Regions from separate parts of the Homo sapiens genome. Here regions 1 and 2 are each linked to region 3. Evidence: promoter capture Hi-C in 16 types of primary human blood cells and fetal thymus (Javierre and others, 2016). All regions are on one chromosome and are shown on one strand. The core of a region is centred on a gene start or on the middle of the fragment in contact, and the rest is flanking DNA. Distances in the headings are between cores, read along the strand shown. Region 1 overlaps SLC22A23 (solute carrier family 22 member 23). Region 2 overlaps SLC22A23 (solute carrier family 22 member 23). Region 3 holds the start of PXDC1 (PX domain containing 1).

Region 1 (3,332 bases), core at 428-2,927, 480 kb before region 3:
ACCTCGGGGCGAGTGAAGACACAGCTTACAGAGGCGTTCAAAGTAGTGACGCAGTGAGGTCTGAATGAACACGGAGGATTTTATTACTCACCATTAATGGTAGTGAAATGCCCTTCGGTGGATACCATCAGGTGAGGTAGGGAAGACATTCCAGAGGAAATCTGTTAATGGGGCAACGTTTTTATTTCTGTACATTTACATACAAATTTTCCCCAAAGGTACAACAGATGCGACACCATGCAGACACGCAGCTGTGAACGACAGTTCAGAACTCAGCGTAAGCTTGTGCTATGAACGAGCACCGTCAGAGAATTCCCACCCACACGTACAGAAACACAGTTTTTATATTACAACCTCAAGGACAGGGAGGGAAGTGTTCGCCGCTAGACATGACACACCATACTGCTTTTCCAAAACACACGGGACATGAAAGCGAGGTGGTGCCTTCTAGACGAGAGGACAGCTGTAGTGTGGACCTCCCCCGCACATGCGATACCTCGGGCCGGGCGGTGTGACCTCACAGGCCCACTTATGGCACTTGCAGTTTGGGATTGCTCATTTGGCTCTAGGAAGCGGTGGTGTCTGAGTGTGATACTTCCCTTACGAGGTTTGTTTTTGTTTTCTTTCTGTTCTGTAGCCAAACCAATTTACCAGCCCGTCTTCCAGATGCAGGTGATCTTACTCTCAGTAAACAAAAACATGTAACCTTTTTCCTGTTTCTCTTGGGTGGTAATAATTTTAGGGCATTTGATAAGAGTTTGACTTCAGAAAAAGAACAAAGTGAAGAAATGTTCAGCTCCATCTCAGGTGTTCACATTTGTGCATAACTTTTATTGAAAGGCTGACAGGGTAGGCTAGCGGAACGGAGGGGTGTGTGGAGGAGAGTAGCAGGGGGTGGGAGGGTCAAGTTGAAACAGTGGGTGCCTGCGAAGGGTCTCCCTATTAGCCAGGAAGGGAACAGCACAGAGGGGTTCAAGCGTGACAGACGGTGCTGGGAAGTGGGCAGCCGTAGCAGCCTCCCCTGCTGAGCCCGGCGGGCCCAGATGCGTATCAGGCTTGGGTGGGTCCTGCCACCTTGCTCACTTGGTACCGGATTTCCCGGGGCTGTGCCCACAGGGAAGTGTTGCTGCTCTGGCAACATTTCATAAAGGTGTTGCTCAACAGCTTCAGGTATCCCTAGGCTGAAGCTGCCACCAAACAGGCACCCGGCCTCCTCCTCCTCAGGCTGCCCTGGGAGGAGAGCTGTGGGACCGCCTCGCCGGCTGAGAGCCATTACCTGCCGACCGTCGGCAAGTCAGCCTCACACCCACTGGACTCTGCTCCCAAGAGCCCAGGCTGTTTTCCTCAAAGCTAGCCTCTTTTCCAGTCATCGATGGATTAGTCCTGATGGCTGAAGTGCTGAGCAGTGTCTTCGTTGGACCAGTTTTTTATTGTCATTTGAGGTGGAGATCAGAGATCATGACCAGAAGAGTGTGAGTGCTGTCCCTTGCCACCAACTTCCTAGAGATTTCGGGCAGCACTCTACAGCTTCAATTTCCAAAAAAAAAAAAAAGTTTACACGACCAGTGAGACTGCTCGCAACTTTCATCACTTAGCATATCCTTCCACAACACAGTACAGTAAGTGGACTGCAGGGTGGCCTGGTGCTGAGGGTGATGGGTGCAGACGTACACCTGTCCAGGTGCAGGCTCAGGGGCCTCGCTGGATCCTTCCCACCTTCCCCAACTGCCTACTGGCCTGGCTACTGGATAGGTCCTATTCTGTACATAATGGGGGTTTGTTGACAGGTGGCTTTATAGCAAGTACTCCAAAAAAGGTAAAAGGAATTTCACAAGTTTGGCACGCAAAGGCTGCACAGATCTAAAGAAAGGCCTTTGTAAAGGTGAATGCAAACTAATGTTGAAACATGGAAATGTGACTTTAAAAAAGAGGGAAGGTGAGGAGCTGGACGTGGAGCAAGTGGAGGCAGGGAGAGGCTGGCCAGACAGCCTCCCTTCCTGGGTATCTCAAGATCCCAGGTGTCGGCGTGGTCCAGCCACTGGAAACACGTGGCCAAGAGTCTGCTTGCCCCTTGCTGTGTCTTTACACATCTCCAGGCCCTTACTGATGTGTGGACCGCATGTGGAGGAGACATGAGTGGCGACAGCAAGCAGCAGGCCGGGTGGAAAGCCAGAAGGGGAGAAGGTCAACCCCTTTTCTGCCCTGTGAATTCTAGCAACTGTCGGTTGGAAGTCACTTCATTGTCTCACCCAGGCCCGAGACCACAATTTCCCTGGAAGGACACAGCCCATGGCAAAGACATGCTTCGAGAAGGGATGAGTTGGACAATGCCAGTAAGAAGCCAGGCTGTCCAGAAAAGCTGGTGCCCAAGTTGCTACAAAGTGGTGCCTGCCCTTGCCAAGGAGGCTGTCTCTTAGTCGCCTTGGGTGTCCTACAAGTTTCCTCCGAAAATGCCAAGAGGAAACCTCCACTTTCTGGGGTGAAACGAGGAACACGAAGAGACCCATGGAGGTCGAGGCAGGGGCAGCGTTGAGCTTTGGTGAGTTATTGCTTTCTTTCAATTTGTCTTGATGCCTTCGAGAGGCTGGAGGTCATTTGGACTCACCTATGAGGAATCTCCGCTCCCTGCCCGAAGCCCCACCTCTGTGCTATGCGAGTGACTGCAAGCAGGAAGCTGGCCCAGGAAGGCAGGCGTGAGGGGGCCCAGCTCCTGCGGGTGCTCCCTGGAGTGATGTCTGAGGTGACGGCCATCCAAGCTGGTGATCTTCATGGTGTGTGCTCAAGGTGTGGGTGACGGGCGTGTGTGTGTGGAGGGCAGCCCCCCTTCTGTGGATTTGCCTCTGCCATCTTTTTGAGTTATTTTCTAATGGTTTGTAGCTTAGAAAGTAGCCATGTTTTCAAGTAGTGCCGGCACAAGAGCTGCCTGTGCACGAGGGACTTTTCTGCTGGAGCCAATCTGGGAGAGGAGGAATAAAAACGAGCACATCTCAGGTCTCGACGCATCTGTTAGCTGTGTACTCACAAAGCTGTGGCGATATGACTGCTGCTCAATTAAGATTTCTGGTGAAATGTTTAAGCTTTTTCTCCAAGAGCTTCCAGCATCAAGTACAAAAGGATGATCCTGAAGGAAAGATGAAGCTGGTTTTAACGGCGTCTGTGAGCTGCTTTCCCTGCACACGAACAGAAGCTCTTACCTTACAAACAGAAAGGGAAAAAGGACCTTAAAAAACCATACACAGACTCTAGCAAAAGCCAAATTCATGTACATTTCACTCCGTCTAAAATGCAGTCCCGGAAACGCTCCACGGTCCTCTCCTGCCTCTGCACGCAGG
Region 2 (3,343 bases), core at 138-2,637, 460 kb before region 3:
GAGGAGTCGGGCAGAAGCCAGGCCAATGGAAGACATATAGGGTCCACAGGAAACTGTTTTTTTTTTTGTTTTGTTTTGTTTTTGAGTAGAGCCGTGTTCTGCTACCCAAGCTGGAGTGCAGTGGCAAGATCTCAGCTCACTGCAACCTCCCCCTCCCTGGTTCAAGTGATTCTCCTGCTTCAGCCTCCCAAGTAGCTGGGATTACAGGCACCTGCCACCATGCCCAGCTAATTTTTGTATTTTTTGGTAGAGACAGGGTTTCACCATGTTGGACAGGCTGGCCTCGAACTCCTGATCTCAAGTGATCCGCCTGCCTTGGCTTCCCAAAGTGTTGGGATTACAGGTGTGAGCCACCGCACCCGGCCTCCGTTTTGATTCTTAATTTATCCCTGTTTCCCCTCCACTGCCCTGGGTCAAGCTTCTTTATTGCCCCACACGAGCGTATCAACCTGCTGGAAAAACGTGTCTGCCCTGAAAACAGGAACAAAGGCGTGGCTGCACCCTCCCACGGAGGCTGCTGATGGCCATCCATGGGGTGCCTCAGGGCTCTCAGGAACCTTTGGGGTGTACCTGTGATGCACCCGTGGTGCCTCGAGGGACCCTTCTTATGTCTGCTCTTGGCAACCATCCCAGAGCCAAAAACTGCCCCCTTCTCTCCCCAAACACCCTTTCGTGCTTCAGGGAAATCTACGTCCTTCTCATCTAACCTTGAGAATGCATCAAGGTCAACTGTAACAGACCCCGTCCCTGCCCCATAGGGGGAAGCCACCCCTTGCCAGGTGAATGCCTTTCCTCTTGGGAAATAGGCAGAGGCCCCAGCCCCCGCACAATGGCTTTATAATCCAGCAACTGATTTGGTTCAGTTAGCCTCCAGAGTTCCTCTTCTGGCCTGCTGAGATAGCAGGGCAATCTCCTACCTTCTTGCTCTGGTAGAAATGAAGTCTCCCCTGACCACAACAGGTCATCTGAAGATAACAGAGCCAGAGAGCTCGGTTCCCCGTCTCCACAAAACGAATCATTAAAATGGAAACTCACCATCTTATGTCAAATTTCATGTTTTTTTCCAACATAAAATGTAGAGAAGCCGTTCAACTCCTAACAGTGCCGCCAGCTCACCCAGCATCTACCTGAACCAGGCAGCAGCAGAGTGGCCAAGGCTGAGGCCCTGGGCTTGGCCTGATGTGGCCGTGGCCGGTCCCTGGCCTTGGTCTCTCTCCTGAGCTCAGGATGAGGCTCTACTGTTGTTTGGGCAGTAGAGCCTCTTGTACTCCTCACAAATCAATTTCAACCCAGAACCCCAATATGGAGAACTGATGAGCTGCTTTGACAGAAAAAGCCATGGGGGATGCTTGGCCCCTCGCCCTCACCCTGGGCCTGTCTTTACCTGGTGGCAGCTCGAGACCTTTCACAAATGAGTGCAACACCCCAGGTGACCTCTAACCCAAATGAGTCAAATCCCTTCCCTCCGCCACCTTGGTGACCTCTGACCCTGAACAAGGGACCACCTTGCACAGTCAGGGCCACTGAGCTCAAGACAGGAGTGACCTTCTAGGTACACACCAAGTCCAGGGACTGGGCTGCAAAGAACCTGCGTGAGTGATGCCCCCAGCCCCTGCAGGACCCAGCAGGCGGGGCGACCTGGGCCGGTGAGGGCCCTGGGAGGAGGTCTGCGCTCACTGGCCTGGCTCAGGCCCACCTGCCTCCACCCACGGCTGTCCTGGGGCCTTTGGCCAGGCTGGCTGCAGGTTCAGGAAGGGCGGGGCCGGCTACAGGCAGGGGCCAAGGCCTCATGGGTCTCAAATCCCCTGTCCTGAGACAGGGCCCAGAATTTCCAGCCTTGTGGCATCCCCCACTGTGCCCCTGAGGAGGTGCGTCCATGTGCATCTTGGTTTCCTGGACCTCATGGGCACGTGGTGGGGAGGCCCTGCTCACAGGATTTACACGCCTGGGCTGGGGGGCACCGGCTGCTTGAGGCTTCCGGGAGCGGGGGAGGTCAATATCTTCTAGCCCGTGTCACTCTTCACACACACACCCTTAGGATTCCAAGTTCAGCGGGGTGGGGAGCAGGGCCCTGGGCTTCACCACTCCCCACCTTCTTCCCTGGCCCCCTCCCACCCAGCTGGCACTTGTCCTCTGTGACTCACGAGTTCACACACAGGACCACAATGTTCTTCCACAGGTTCCGTGTCCCCACCACCTTCACGATGCAGACCTTCTTGGGCCTCCGGGAAAGCTCTTTCTCCAGCTCTGCAAAGAAACAGACCCTGTGAGCCCTGGGCAGGCCGCCCACAGAGGACAGGACAGCAGCTGCAGTCACAGCCCTGGTTCCCCAGTTCGGGTACCACAGAAGGGAGAGAGAAGCTTTTTTTTTTTTTTTTTTTTTGCCAGTGGATAGGGTCTAGGTTTCCAGGATAGAAAGGCACTCATAAGACCCCAGCTTTGCAGTTCAGGTTTCGCTCGGGTGCCTGAGAGGGCACCAAGGTGCACCGTCAGCAGAAGTTTCCATCACAAACCCTTGTTTTGGAACCAGTCAGAGTGCACACAAACGGTCTCGACTCAGTTCACTTTTGTCTGAGTACAGAGCTCAGCGATGATATTCTAGGTTACTGAGGCACTCATTAGGCCCTGGGCAAATCTAAACATGCAGTTCTTTTCCGTACACTCTACATCTGCCTGTGTCACCCCCGGCTCGGAGACTGGGAAGGCCACATGCAGATATGCTTCTTAGCCTTGTGGGGTGGAACTATGGCTGTAGCTACTTCTGCTGAAACTGCCCTTAGGACATCATATGCATCTTTGAAAGCCAAATACATAAGTGAACACATCTGCGTGTATGTGTATACACCATACATGCACACATTCATACGCATGCATATACGTGTGCATGTTTTAGTTAACAGAAGTCCTTGGGGGCTGGACAATATTTTGGCTCCAAGGGATGTGAGCAACTATAAAGTCATGAGACTGAGTTTCTTGTGCGGCTCCAGCGGCTCTGAAAGCCCCTCTGAAGGGAGTCCACCAGCGCACAGTGTTACATTCACCAGGCCAAGGGGTCTGCAGAGGTGCTGGTGTTGATCTGGCAATTTACAGGGAAGATTCAGAATGGTGGGGGTGCTGGCCTCCAGGAGCTGTCTGCTTGCACGTCTGGGAGCAGGAATGCCACCTCAGCCTTCTGTTGCCTCTCTGCCTTCCTAGCCTGGCATGTCTTCATGGAGTAATCCCCTACTGGGGAGCTAAAAAAGAAAAGGGAGACTTCCCGAAGCGGAGGGGAACCAGGACTCTTCAAGACTGTCAAGGTCACCAGAAACAAGAAAGACTGAGCAGCTGTCAGACCAGGAGACTA
Region 3 (3,495 bases), core at 750-3,249:
TGCCTTTCAGTCCTCACAAACGTCAGAGACCACAAGCACAAAGTTACAGGTGGGGAGCCCCACGGGGATCCCGCTCCAACCAGCCTGCCTGGGGTCACGGAGCTCAGACGCCTGACCACAGTGAAGCTCAGGGACTCCAGTGTATTTAAGCCTCGTTCCAGGAAAGGTCATTGAATAAACCGCTGTTCCTTCACGATGCTTTCCTGATTTGGGCATTGATTTGTTAAATTTAAAATATCATAACAAACAGCAAATCCAAGGAAAACTGCTTCCATGCTTGAAATAACACCCAACTGTCTGGAGAACAGCTATAAATGTGAGGCTCTGGGGAGCAGAGGGAGGCCTGAAAGGCGGGCCTTCTCGCTCAGGGCCCCAACTCGCTGGCTGTGGGAGCCCTTCCAAAAGATGTGTCATGAGAACTAAGCTAATTATCCACGTAATTCTCACACTGGGGTTGGGGCCATCGCCAGGGGAAAGCACAGGTTATCTCAAGAACGCAGCCAGATAGGAGGCTGGGGAGACTTGGACGGGCCACCTTCTGCTTCAGTAACTTGGCCCCAAGCTTTCAGGAGGTCTCTGCTTAGAGGAGGACTGCAGAAAAGAAGGCTGCTGGGCCACTGTCCCAATGTTCCGAGCTACAGGTGGTCACCCATGGAGGGGGGTGGGACCTGCTCGGAAGTCCTCCAGTCTTCCCGCCCCTTCTCCCCTCCCGGCCCTCCCAGGCGGCCCCTCTCCTCGGCCTGCCCCCTCCACCCCGCAATTCTTCCCGTCTCAATTCCAGTCCCTCTCTCTTGCGTCCTCCCGGCTTCCACCCCCTCAGCCTGGCCTCCAAAAGAAAGATCGGGCAGAGCGGTAGGAAAAGGGAAGCCACCGCGGTTTCTGAAAACAAGAATTCCCGCGAGCCAGGACGGTCACGAGGCCGGGGAGGAGGCGGCGCAGCTGATCAAACGCGAATGGGGACCAGCCCTGGCGGGGGTGCGGGGGGGCCCTGGCTGTCCGCGGCAGCCGCGGGCGGGGCGGCCGCTCCGAGGAGGGACGGAAGGGCTGCGTGGCACCTCGCGCTCGAAGACCAGGGGCGCGCCCTCCGCGGGGAGAACTCGGGGCGGCGGCCAGACCCGACGCGACCCCCGGCTCGGACCCTGCAGTTAACTGCTCCCAGACGCTTTCCCAGTGCGCCCGCCCGCCGGCCCTCGGGAGGTACCGGGCAGGGGGCTAGGGCCGGGCCGACCCTGTGAGCCGCTCAGCCCCGGGCGCCCCCGCCCTCCTCGGAAGTGACTCGTCCTCAGGGAGAGTCCGGCGCCCGCCCTGCCGGCCTCGGCCCCTTTCCCGCCCCATTTGGCTCCTCCGCCGGGGGCGCCCCCAGGCTGGGCAGGCTGGCTCCCCGTCCCCCTAACCCCGCCGCCCGGGCACCCCTCGTCTGCGGGCGCGGGGTCCAAGTGTCCCCTGTCCAGGGCGGGCAGAAAGGAGAAGTCGCAATCTCGGTTGAAGTCTCTTCCCCGCCTCCTTCGTGCACTTCAAGGCTGCCTCGGCCCCGCGCCCCTCCCGCGTCCCCGGCCCCGCACCTTGCCGCAGCGGCCCCTGCGCCAGTTCGGACCGGTCCTCGGGAAAGGCGTCGCGCAGGCGCTGCCACAGGCGGCCCAGGTCCGCCAGGCTGCGGTGCAGGTAGAGCACGCTGCGGTCCGACCACTCCGTGCGGATCTCGAAGAACTCCTCTTCGTCGCCGCGCCGGCTGACGATGAGCCTGCGGATGCCGTTCACCCAGCAGCCGCGCACGAACATGTTCACGAGCGACGTGCCCTCAAACACCGCCGAGGCCATGTCGCACGCATGCCCCCGCCAAGGGCTCCCCAGCCCCGCCGCCCGCCCGCCCGCAGGAGGCGCGCCCCGGCCGGGGTCGTCCCGGGTCTGTCCGTGGCCGGGGTCGTCCGGGGTCGGCCCGTCACTCCAAGGAGGCTGCGTATGGCCCGCGTTCGGGGCAGCGGGGCGGCGCGGCGGCGAGTGGCTCGGGCCGGCCGGGCGCGGCTTTATAAGGCGCTTCCCATCGCGGGCGGCGCGGTAGTCGACGTCGAGGTTAGGCCGCGTCCGCCTCCCGCCCGCCTCCCGCGGAACGGGCGCCGCGGGCCGCTCTGGAAAGGAAGAGGTCCGGCTGGCCGCGCCCCCGCCGCCTCCGCAGAGACCGCGCTGCCGCGGCCACGAGAACCCCCGGAGCCGGGAGCCGGGCCGAGTCCCAAGCGCTCGCCCCCGCCTCGCGCCCCCCGCGCCTCCTCCCTCGCGGCCCCGGAGCCGCAGGTCGGTGACTGGACCAGCCGGGAAGGGAGGCGGGGCGGGCCCTGCTTGCCAGGCGCTCGGCGCAGACTTTTTTCTCTTTCCGTTTCGCGATCCTCGGGACCTCCCAGGGCTAGGAGCTGCGCGCCCCACCCGGCCCGCGAGGGGATGGCAACTACCCGGGGTCCGGAGGCGGGGCTGCGAGTGTCGGGGCGGGGGGCGCGGGCCGGGTCGAGCACCGCCCCGACGAGGGCCCAGGCCAGTCCGGCCCGCCCCGGGTTCCCTCCGTGCCTCAGGTCCCCTCCGTGCCCCGCGTCCTCCCGCGCATTCCGGTCATGCCTCAGCCGCGCCAAGGCCTGGGACACGGCCGGACAGACCGCGGGGCAGCCCTCGGAGAAGTGGGAAGAGGGGAGAAAACAGTGGCGAAAAGAAGGTCTCCTGGGAAGGAGCGCCCTGGGAAGCTGGACGCGGTGGGTGCTCTTGAGGGGCCTCAGGAGTGGACTTGGGGAAACCGCCCGCCCTGAAAACTGACTCAGCGGCGCGTTACTGAGGCCGTTCCTAGTTGGAAGAGAATTAATAGCACTTGTTTGAGAATTACAAGTTAGTTCCAGAAATGAATCGAGTGACCTCACAGCCCGTAGGCAGGGGTGGGAGAGCCAGGGTGAGCCCCTCACCTCACCCCGCCCCCGCCCCGGCAGCGCTCTGGAAAGCCTCAAAGCCCAGCGCTGCGCGGAAATGTTAGAGGCCCAAGGCAGGTGGCCTGTCTGGACTCAGACCCGACCCAGATGTCCCCCCAGGTCCCTACCACTCAGTCCCACCTGCCTCGACTCAGTCCCGACCCAGATGACCACCCCCCCCCCGCCCCCACCACGACCAACTTTTATTCCGACTGCGCCAGTGACTTGCAGATAGCATAGCTTCAAATTTCCTCACCTGGTCTGGGGCGGTGAACAGGTCAAGATGGAGAGTGTCAAGAGAGACTTTTGCTTTGTCTATGATGTTTTTATATACACTTGCTAATTAAATGAACGCATATGTTTCCTGTGTAATTTTGTATAGGGGAATAGGGGCCGTGGGAACTGGAAGTAAACAGCCAGTGTGCCAGCAGCTCTTGACTCTAGGTGGTGGGAATAAGTGCCGTTGTAACCACAGTACCAGCCCAAACGGGGCTTACTCTGTTTGTAACAATGTTGAGTTACCTTGCAGGTATAACAGAGCCAAAAACTCTTA

The links. The method cuts DNA at HindIII sites, captures the fragments that hold promoters and counts their contacts. A CHiCAGO score of 5 or more calls a contact.
Region 1: a contact is called between a fragment that was not itself captured here and the fragment with the promoter of PXDC1 in region 3, in 5 of 17 cell types (naive CD8 T cells, erythroblasts, naive B cells and 2 more). The highest score is 7.0, in naive CD8 T cells.
Region 2: a fragment that was not itself captured here is called in contact with the fragment with the promoter of PXDC1 in region 3 in 9 of 17 cell types (naive CD4 T cells, total CD4 T cells, total CD8 T cells and 6 more); the score reaches 7.1 in naive CD4 T cells.

The regions. Positions count from the first base shown.
Region 1 is chr6:3,269,298-3,272,629 of GRCh38, forward strand. SLC22A23 (solute carrier family 22 member 23) reads right to left here. Exons shown (of 10, transcript NM_015482.2): 10 at 1-3,332. Among named protein-coding and RNA genes, the nearest start is that of PSMG4, 12 kb to the left of the region's middle. The HindIII fragment of the contact is 2,795 bases long and covers 281-3,075 here.
Region 2 is chr6:3,287,620-3,290,962 of GRCh38, forward strand. It overlaps SLC22A23 (solute carrier family 22 member 23), which reads right to left. Exons shown (of 10, transcript NM_015482.2): 6 at 2,145-2,247. Among named protein-coding and RNA genes, the nearest start is that of PSMG4, 30 kb to the left of the region's middle. The HindIII fragment of the contact is 1,943 bases long and covers 417-2,359 here.
Region 3 is chr6:3,749,714-3,753,208 of GRCh38, forward strand. It overlaps PXDC1 (PX domain containing 1), which reads right to left and starts at 2,000. Exons shown (of 5, transcript NM_183373.4): 1 at 1,563-2,000. The coding sequence starts at 1,818. RefSeq lists silencers at 1,224-1,303, 2,054-2,293, 2,344-2,513. The HindIII fragment of the contact is 5,359 bases long and covers 561-3,495 here.